Linked DNA regions of Homo sapiens: regions 1 and 3 are each linked to region 2. Evidence: promoter capture Hi-C in human tissues and cell types (Jung and others, 2019). All regions are on one chromosome and are shown on one strand. The core of a region is centred on a gene start or on the middle of the fragment in contact, and the rest is flanking DNA. Distances in the headings are between cores, read along the strand shown. Region 1 has its middle 61 kb from the start of LINC02273. Region 2 holds the start of SH3D19 (SH3 domain containing 19). Region 3 overlaps LOC127898557 (a long non-coding RNA gene).

Region 1 (3,392 bases), core at 885-3,384, 710 kb before region 2:
CCGAAAACAGTTCCAGGAAAGGAAAGAAGGATTGCTCCGCAGTGTCCAGCCCTCCACAGAGGCAAACAGAGGAAGACAGAGAACAGGCCCCTGATGATTTTAAGAGGACCAATTTTGTCTCAGTAGTAAAGGTAAGATGGACTGTAGCTGGTGGGTGGGGGCGGTGGGGAAGTGAAAGGGCTCTTGGTGGTTGGTTTGTAAAAGAGCAAAGCAACCAAGGCACTGGAAACCTGCAGTGTGACCCAAAAACACACAGGCTACCCGAGCAGGTGGCAGGCATCTCTCCACCAGGAGGGAGACGCTGGAGGAAAATAGAGACTTTTAAAATGGCTTTGATGACCCAAACCCCAGGAACTGTGAAGACTAGGTTGGCAGCAATAAAGCAAACACTAGGAATAAATGAAACAGTGCTTGCCTCTAAAAACCCTGGGGAGACCCTGGCTCCTGTTTTGAGCTGGGCTGTGTCAGGAGCTCACATGTTCAGAAGCTGATTATGTGCTAGGCACTGTGTTGAGCCTTTAAAATACATACTTCCATTTAGTCCTCACAGTCAGCCTCGAAGGTAGAGAAAGTGTTCCCATTTAACAGATGAGGACACTGAGGGTATGGGAAGTCTAGAATTTATTTAAAGTTAAACACAAACTGGAGGTGATATGCAAACTCAGGTCTTTCCTTAAAACCCACACTCTTCCTACTACTACTGACTGCCCCTTACAGAAAGGATGGGATTCACTCATTGAGCACATAGTCCTCAATCACTCATGGTGTGAGCTCCTGTTTACCACACCTTTGGGATATGCCAGGCATGTTTTATGTTTTTTTACATGTGCTAACTCATGTAATCCTCACATGCCTTATGAAAAGCTCTTCTATTAATATTATTCTCATTTTGGAAATGGAGGCACAGAGAGGTTAAATAACCTACCTAAGGTCACGCAGAATAAACAGTGCAAGGATTCAAATCTAGGCAGCCTGGATCCAGAGCCCACATACTTAACCTTAATACTCATGCTGGACTGGGTGCGGTGGCTCATGCCTGTAATCCCATCACTTTGGGAGGCAGATCACTTGAGGCCAGAGGTTTGAAACCAGCCTGGCCAACATGGAGAAACCCTGTCTCTACTAAAAATTCAAAAATTAGCCAAGTGTGGTGGTGGGCACCTGTAATCCCAGTTACTCAGGAGGCTGAGGCAAAAGAATCGCTTGAGCCCCGGAGGCAAAGGCTGCAGCTGCAGTGAGCCGAGATCACACCACTACACTCCGGCCTGGGCAACAGAACGAGACTCCATTTGGAAAAAAAAAAAAAAAAAAAGCCGAAAACACCAAAGAAACAAAAACTCACGCTGTATTCTGCATCCCAGTGGATGTCCCTGTGTGCCAGGCTTCTTCTCCATCCTAATGTTTCCTGTCTAATGTGCCCACTGGAGAGGCTCTCTGGATGGGAAAGCTGACGCCACTGAAATTTTCTGGGAACAGAAGGCCAGAGGTGGTGGGTGGGAAGCTTTTGTGGCTGTCAGTTCTATGCTAATGACATCTGCTTCTTGGCAGGGGCACCTCTGATCCTAAGGTGAGATTAGTTCAGTCCCTTTCAGCACCTGGTTTTGGGATCTGAGAAGTCTGAATGTTAGGGGTAACAGTGCATGGACCAGGGAGGCAACTCACCCAACTACTCTGCTGTCCAAATAATTTTTTTTTAATTAAAAACTCCTCTTGGGAGATTATAGGGAGAGCACAAGCAGGTGGTGCTAAGAGTGAGAAAAATCTTCTCTGTCCCTTGGGGAATGACTAAGAGCAATGCCTATTCTACTGAGATTTGCAGTTCAATTTATCTTCCTTAAATGACCACATAGGAAAATGATCACAGCAGCGAAGCGACATTAGAAATGTGGAATGGATAAATAAAACTTTGGATGAGCGCACCGGCTGCTGAACCCATTTGAAAAATGGAGATCTGAGAAGCACACAGACTGAACTGTGAGAAGCCCTTGGAAGGAAGGTGTCGGAACAAATGTCAAATGTTTATCTGGACTAAAAGATAAACTGATGTGCACAAGCCCTCAGGCCCTTGCAGGTTTCCTTCTTCATGGGCAAGGCTGTGGTTTCCATAGGTCATTTCCCTGCAGTGGTTATAGCTGCTTTTAGCATAAGCCAAGAATCACCGTCGTTGGAGGTGGAAGGGGGCCTTTGGGGTCACACTGTATAGTCTGACCATCTCACTTTGCAAATGAGGATCTCAAAAGATAAAGTGACATGAGAGATGAAATGACATGGCCTGGTATTCCACGTGCATTTTCTTGGAGGATGTTTATAAAAATCAAACCAGTCGTCAGATTGGAATGTAGGCTACGTAGCAGCAGCCACTAACATCAGCAAACTCGACGACGTTCCAGATACTCGTGAGCTTTCTACGTACATGATCTCATGTAGTCTTCACAATGACCTGACGAGATTGGAACTAATATAGCCTGTATTTTCCTAGATGAGGACATCTAGGCCTGGAGAGATTCAGTGGCCTAACCGAGGTCACACTGCTAGGAAATGAGAGAGCCACGTCTCAACCCAGCCCTGGTACCACATCCCATGGAAACCCTGCTCTGCTGCCTTCTAACAAGACAAGAGTAGGAAAATGGTCAAAGGAACCAGATGTCCCTCATGGGAATATTATTCTACAATTCAAAATCATTATAAAATCCATGTACGAATATGGTAAATGTTTATTACTTAGTGTTTAGTGAAAATGCAATACTCGATGCAAAAATATTCAGAAGAAAAATGAAAGAACACTTAAACACCAACAGTTGCTGACTAGTGTGGAAAGCTCTTTTTTCTTCTGATTTTTCCCTTTTTGAATTTTCTATAATGTGGTATAGGTCTTTTGTAGTGAACAAATAAATGTAATCATTTTTCTTTAAACAACTATCACTGTGCTCACAGAATCGATAAGAAAAAGACTAAAATGAATGGTAATATATTTTCCTTTCCTTGGCAATAAAAACTAATAAGTAATTGATTTGCACCAAGAGATAGAAGATCATTTTACAAAGTCCATACACAACACAAGTCCCTTTTCACGTTTCATCAGATGCAACAGAAACTAAAATTCCAAGAATTTAAGTTTTGAAGCTACCCTATTTTTGTGACTTGCGTAGCCTAGTCTATTAATAAAAGGAGATAACCTTGCTATGTTTACCAGCATAGTGACTAATCATTCTTTCCTTCTGTCTGTAGCTGAGTTCCAGCCAACATTAAGACTCATGGACACATTGGGTTGGAAGGTTGCTTACTGTTCACCTTCCACACACTCAGGCACAGAGAGGTGAAATCACTTGCTCAACGTCTTGTGAGTCTAAATATTTAAATGCTGAAAATAAACTCTCAGCTCCTCAAGGGCA
Region 2 (3,109 bases), core at 262-2,761:
AGCAAGACGCCAAAGATAAAGGCCTGTTCATCGCACTCAGGAATTTCCTAAGGTTTCATGTCCAGGTAATATTTCTGCCTGCTACTTGGGTATCTTTTGGTGAAATTCCAGAATCTTTTCCTCTCTGTGTGAAAGTAAGTACGTGCACCTACTGAACCTAAGATGTGTATTGTGCAGGTACACACAACTTTGGTTACACGGTTCTTTCCAGCTTTGAAAAACTTTCTTAGGGGTAGCTCACACAGCTAAGTGCTTCAAATTACAGTTTCTGACTCCAGAGCCAGTGGTCTCTCCACTTCCCCTAGTTGCCTCTCTACAAATAATCACGTATGGGTCTCTTTAACACATTTCTTCCTGTTCTTCTAGGAATTGTAGCCATATCCTAGCCCTAAATGAACTGGAATACAGTGAGGCTTGATTTATTATTAAACATTTTTATTAGACTTTTTTTTTTTTTCGAGAAGGACTCTCGCTCTGTTGCCCAGGCTGGAGTGCAGTGGTGCGATCTCCGTTCACTGCAAGCTCTGCCTCCTGGGTTCAGGCCAGTCTCTTGCCTCAGCCTCCCGAGTAGCTGGGACTACAGGCGCCCGCCACCACGCCTGGCTATTTTTTTTTTTTTTTGTATTTTTAGTAAAGACGGGGTTTCACCGTGTTAGCCAGGATGGTCTCGATATCCTGACCTCGTGATCTGCCCGCCTCGACCTCCCAAAGGGCTGGGATTACAGGCATGAGCCACCGCTTCCAGTCTTACTAGACTATTTTTAAGAACAGTTTTAGGTTCACAGCAAAATTGAGCTAAAGGTACAGAGATTTCCCATGTACCCCCTGCTCCCACACATGCATAGCCTCCCCCATTATCAACATCCCCCACCAGAGTGCCACAGTTGCTACAATTGATGAACCCACATTGACACCTCATAATCACCCAAAGTCTATAGTTTACATTGCGGTTCACTCTTGGTTTTGTACATTCTTTGGGCTTGGACAAAGGCATCCGCTATTACAGAATCATACGCATAGTAGTTTCACTGCCCTAAAAATCCTCTGTGCTCCCGCAAGTCTAGGTTTTTAAGGGCGAAAAGAGAGGGAAAGAAAAAAGTGTGCATTGCAGAGGCTCGACCCAACTCCAAGCCAAGTTTGTTCCAAAGTTCAGCAGCTCCCAGCTGTCCCATCTCTCCCAGTTCGGCCCCGGTCGGGTTCCTCCTCTTTTTGTTTAAGTGTCAAACAAATGGGTTTCCTGTTGACACTGGAATATCGTGAAAAGGCAGGAAGAGGCCAGGCCACCTCCTCTTTCCCCTCTTCCTATCCCGTTTATTTATTTTGCACACGTTTGTTTGGGTCGAGCTGGTGTTTCCAGCGTGTGTGGCTGTGGGGCGGCCTTAGGGGCCGATAACCCCTCCCTGAGGAGGCGAGGCCAGCCCCGAACCCGCCCGATCCGCGGTGGAGCTCTACGGGGCGGGGAAGGCAAAGAGGAAGGGGGAAGAGAGCGGGAGTGGGAGTGGGAAAGGCCAGGGATTAAGAGGCCGCCGGGACGCCGCAAGGAGGCGGGGAATCGGCTCGGCCCGCGCCCTGCCGCTGCCCGGCCGGCTGCAGGTGGAGTTCGCGGAGGTGGCCATTTCCACAGCCGCCGCCGACGCCTCCTCTCCGGGAGCCGCCTTCCCCCCGGCCCGAGGGCGGTGGCGTGGGGCGCCGGGTGCAGGCGTTCTGGGGCGCCGGGGCCGCAGCTCGCTGGCCATCCCGCGGCTGCGCCCCGCGCCTCGCCCATGGCTGAGGGCCGGCGGCGGGAGGACGAGGAGGAAGAGCTACGCGAGCGCCGCGAACTTGGTGGCCAGCGCCGCGCCCGGGGCCGTGCGCTCTCGGGCCACTCGGCCGCAGGTGAGAGGCGCGGGGGACGGGGCGGCGGGGACCCAGAGCTGCGCGCTCTGGGGCCGCTCGGGTCCTGCCCCACACAGCGGCAGCTCCTTCACGCGCCGGGATGGGACCGGCTTCTTTAACTCTCAGAGGCCAGACTCGGGGAGGGTGGCATTTCCATCGCCATCCTCACTTTCCGGCCGAGCCCGAGGAAATTCAGACCCGTCTTTAACTGCTAGTGGTCGTACAGCTGAAACTCAAATTTTCCGTGCACACTAAATCCAGGAGCTGCTGGCTTGGGACTTGTGGCCTGGTTGATGACTTATCTCTGGATGAGTCAGAGGTCAATGGCCGTCTCGGTGGACAACGACACCTTCCGAGGGGTTTGCCTGCGCCGCCGCAGCCAGGTCAGAGCACGTGCTCATAACTGAGGCAAGTCCTGTTTCGGCGTCCCTTGCACTTCGGACCTGTGACCCCCCTCCCTCCCTCCCCCAGCCGCCGAGCTCACCAGTTTTCTGTAGGACTTGTTTTCGTTAGTTGTGAGACCCTCCCCCACGCAAAGAGAAGTCCAGAATATAGCATTCCAAAAGGCCATTCATTTGGGCTGAGAATCATTTTCGGGCCTGTAATTACTTTTATGATACTGTGTTTTGGGTACACAAAAGCGGCACGGATCAAATAGTTTGGCACATTAGTGAAAGAGTGAATAAGTGTAGATCCACACCCCTTCCCTCTTCCGGGCGGCTTTTCAATCAAACATAATAGAGAGGACATTCTTTGGCCTTTGGTTCCAACTGGGTAATCCGAGTTATCTGAAAACAAGAGGGAAGAACAAACCTAGGGGGACTGGCAACAAAAGGGAGATAGGGAAGTGAGAGAGTCGGAGGAGAACGATTCACTGAGAGCCTCATTATAAAGTGGAATATAGCGAATATTCCATGAAGTGGAGAAGCTTTTCTGTGTGACTCCCTTAACCACTAAGAGAAAGTTGGAAAAATAGAGAAGATATTGTATCTGTGCGGAACAAATGGAGGGTAGAAAGTAGGATGAAAGGAAAACTTGAGAAGAACATCTTGAAGAAATAGTCAATTTAATGCCTTTGGTAGAATCTTGGAACATAAAAATAATTCTCCATGCTCATTATTACAACTTTTCATCAAAATAAGGCATTTGGCTGTCTATATGAACACCAGTTTTGAACATAATTGGTAATTTTGTTCAGTGTAAACCCAAACCTTGTGAAATAATGAATAGTTGC
Region 3 (3,097 bases), core at 446-2,945, 600 kb before region 2:
AAGTATGGGGACCTCGAGGTCCTGATTCCAAACAGCAACAAACATGTGCTCTAAGATTAGCCTTTCTGAACGATATTTCTCCCTGAAGACTTGTCTGTTTCCTCAGTGAAGCTATCCAAGCTTCCTAACCTCCCTCCAAGGCCACAGAGACCTCTTCTCCCTCCTCCAAACTCTGACCAGCAATCTGTGTCCTTTTTTCAGAGGAAGGGGGAAGCAGAGGGCACTTCTCACATGCTCTCTGGCATCAGCTGTTGGGGGATTCAATAGGCCTGGTTAATAATGCCAGGCATTGCCAGCAAGTCACAAACTAATTGAGAAATAAGACAAAAGAATAGGGCATGTGGAGACCAAAATAACATCTTCATTGTTGATAAATGTGCTATTAGACTAGCAGAATTCACAGCCTAGTCACCCTGTCACAGGCAGCACTGGGGACAGCTCTTCCCTGGGGCACAGATCCCCGCCCTTGCCAATGATCACAGAGGAGAGAGCAAAGCAAGCACTTCTTGTGGGCAGCCTGGCTCCTAACAGGAAGGGGAAGGAAGGGAGCGTGGTTCTGTGTGCCCTGTTCCTCTTCATGGCTCTCCAGTTAAAACATCACACTCCTCCTTTCTGGGGACAGCTGGATGGAGAATGGCCAGCTGAGTCACACAGGTGAACCCCCTCTACCTAGGACAAGCTCCCCAGAGCAGGAAGGAGGCTTCCTGCCTCCCCCAACACTTTCTTATTCTTTTCTATGTGCCTTGGGTCTTTGATGGGATGATAAACCAACGGAATGCAGGGATTCTGTATTATCTTCTGTCGATGTTTTCTCCAAAGTGCCTGGCACTGTGCTGGGCAAATTATAGAAGTTCAAAAAATATGTTTGTTTGTTTTCGAAAAATAAAGGGCAAAAAAAAAAAAAAAAAAACACAGAAGCAAGGAAATGACAGAAGGGACAGAGAGGGGAGGAAGAAATGGGATTGGGGGATGTTGTGATGATTATTTATAAGCTTATCTTAAAAATAAGGGAAGCATGAGGGGTTGGGGATTTGACTCTGAAAGCAGATGGCCTGAGTTCAAATCCTGCCTCAGCCCTTTACTTGCTGTATTGCTCTGGACAAGTTGCCTAAGTTCTCTTTCATCTGTACCTACCCAAGTGGGTTGTTGTGAGCATTAAATGGGATTTGGCTCATCAAGGGGTTAGAATACCAGTTGATGAACTGTGACTTTCAGGTTATTCTGACCTGATGCCTGTTTTTGTAAATAAAGTTTTATTGGAACCCAGACACATCCGTTCATTAATGTATTGTCTACAGTGGCTTTTGCAACTACTCTAGTAGTTGAAACAGAGATTTTATGACCTGCAAAGCCTGAAATATTTACTATCTGGCTCTTTAGAGAAAAAGTTTGCATATTGACTCCTGGCTTAGAACACAAAGCCCCATTCTTTCACCCTGTGAAGTAGAAGACTGAGTACATATGTCACTCTCTTTAAAGCAGTGCTTGATTCTTGCAGTTAGACATTGGTACTCCCTTCCCACTGTCATTCTATGGCACCTCAGACTCCTTCTACGGCACTTTTCACATGGCATTGTCTAGAGATTCTCCAGTCTGGGATTGTGTCATATTCACTGCTCCAGCATAGTGCCTTAGACAAAATTGATACCCAGTAAATGCTTGCTCAATATTCACTGGTAATACACACATGCACAATAAAAACCCTCTAAAAGGAATAACTATAAACCTGCAAAGTGACAAAGGCTAGAGTTCTGAGCAAGCCTCTCTGGACTTTTCACTATTGTTCCATCAGGTAGGTTTTCATGTCCTTCTTTCTGCCTCTTTATTTCTGTCTTCTTGCTTCTCAACGTCTGGCCATGGTGGTGGTGGTGCTTGAGTGGCAACAGTCCTGCGCTCACTGATGAGCCTGCAGTCTACAACTGGCATTCCTTTCCATGTCTTGCAGGGCCATCAGCCTTCCCTTCAATGCTTGGAAGTTCATGTCAAGACATTTTGGCCAGGCGCGCATCAGTCCTTGGGCAGATGCTCCTAGTGGGAGGTGAGGAATGCTCCCACCTGAGTCTCTCCCACCTTGCGTTCCACAGCAGGTGTGCCAGGGGCATTCTAATCATGCTTCCTGTGGACTTGCATCTGCTTCTGGTTTTCAGAGCTTCTGGTCATTTTCACTACAAAATATTAGGCTCTATTTATCTGTCACATCACCAAAGCTAGTCCTGGATATTTCTGACCAGGAAATATTTGAGCTGTGTTGTAAACAAGACAATGACCATGGGCACCTCCCTGATCCTCATCCTCTTCCTCAGTAAAACAAGAGGAAATGGTCACAAGCCTCTCTGATTCTAACATCAATGGCATCTATGAGGTCACATGAACCTTCAGTGCTAGCAATGTCTTTAAATGGGATTAGCAGCTGGCTTGAGCACTGACCCATTTGAGGGGCTGGTTGCTGACCCCACACTCCTCAAGTCCTCTGTCTGCAGGATACTAGGATGCTGACCTTTCATCATTCCACTGACGTTATGTGGCCTAAAATCCTCAGCCTGAAGGTAAAATTCCTTAAAAAGCTCTGAGCTTTCCAAAGGTTCTTTGGGGTTCAAAGGTGAAGTCAATGTTTGCCTCCAAGTAAGAATTCATTAGCTGCTATTGCCAATCAGAGCTGTTTTCTCTGAGCAGAAACGAGCTCCTTGGAACTTTGCAGGTCTCTAGGTCAACAGCTTAACATGCAGGATGTGCAAACGCCTGTGGTCTCATCCACCAGAACTTGCAGGTACACATAGCTTCCTCGCCCGACTCCGCAGCTTGGCTTCCCATCAGAAAACAGCTGAAAAGTACCTGCCATATCTTGCTAGTGAGACCCAGGTCCCATCAGACATCAGATTGCAATCTAAGATGGAGCTAGAAGCTTGAATATCTCTCCTGGGTGTTCTGACACACTCATTCTCCAGCTTGACTTAAAAAGAAGAGCTTTTTTCTCCCCTTATGGCATTTTTATTCTCATAGGAATCAGTAAGTAGAAACCTATTTGTAAAGTAATGGGTAAAATGATTACTGGGGTTTTTTAAATGCTCTTTCTGATGTTTCCATTTTTATTTAACTC

The links. The method cuts DNA at HindIII sites, captures the fragments that hold promoters and counts their contacts. A contact is called where the count stands out against the background at its distance.
Region 1: a fragment that was not itself captured here is called in contact with the fragment with the promoter of SH3D19 in region 2 in 1 of the 25 tissues and cell types used here (lymphoblastoid cells).
Region 3: a fragment that was not itself captured here is called in contact with the fragment with the promoter of SH3D19 in region 2 in 2 of the 25 tissues and cell types used here (mesenchymal stem cells and thymus).

What each region holds. Positions count from the first base shown.
Region 1 is chr4:152,038,307-152,041,698 of GRCh38, reverse strand. No RefSeq gene overlaps it. Among named protein-coding and RNA genes, the nearest start is that of LINC02273, 61 kb to the left of the region's middle. RefSeq lists a silencer at 138-217. The HindIII fragment of the contact is 6,310 bases long and covers 1-3,392 here.
Region 2 is chr4:151,324,007-151,327,115 of GRCh38, reverse strand. SH3D19 (SH3 domain containing 19) reads left to right here and starts at 1,511. Exons shown (of 20, transcript NM_001378122.1): 1 at 1,511-1,875. The coding sequence starts at 1,764. The HindIII fragment of the contact is 31,894 bases long and covers 1-3,019 here.
Region 3 is chr4:151,927,991-151,931,087 of GRCh38, reverse strand. All of the region lies in intron 3 of LOC127898557 (a long non-coding RNA gene), which reads right to left. All of the region lies in intron 3 of LOC127898556 (a long non-coding RNA gene), which reads right to left. Among named protein-coding and RNA genes, the nearest start is that of LINC03074, 26 kb to the left of the region's middle. The HindIII fragment of the contact is 3,585 bases long and covers 1-3,097 here.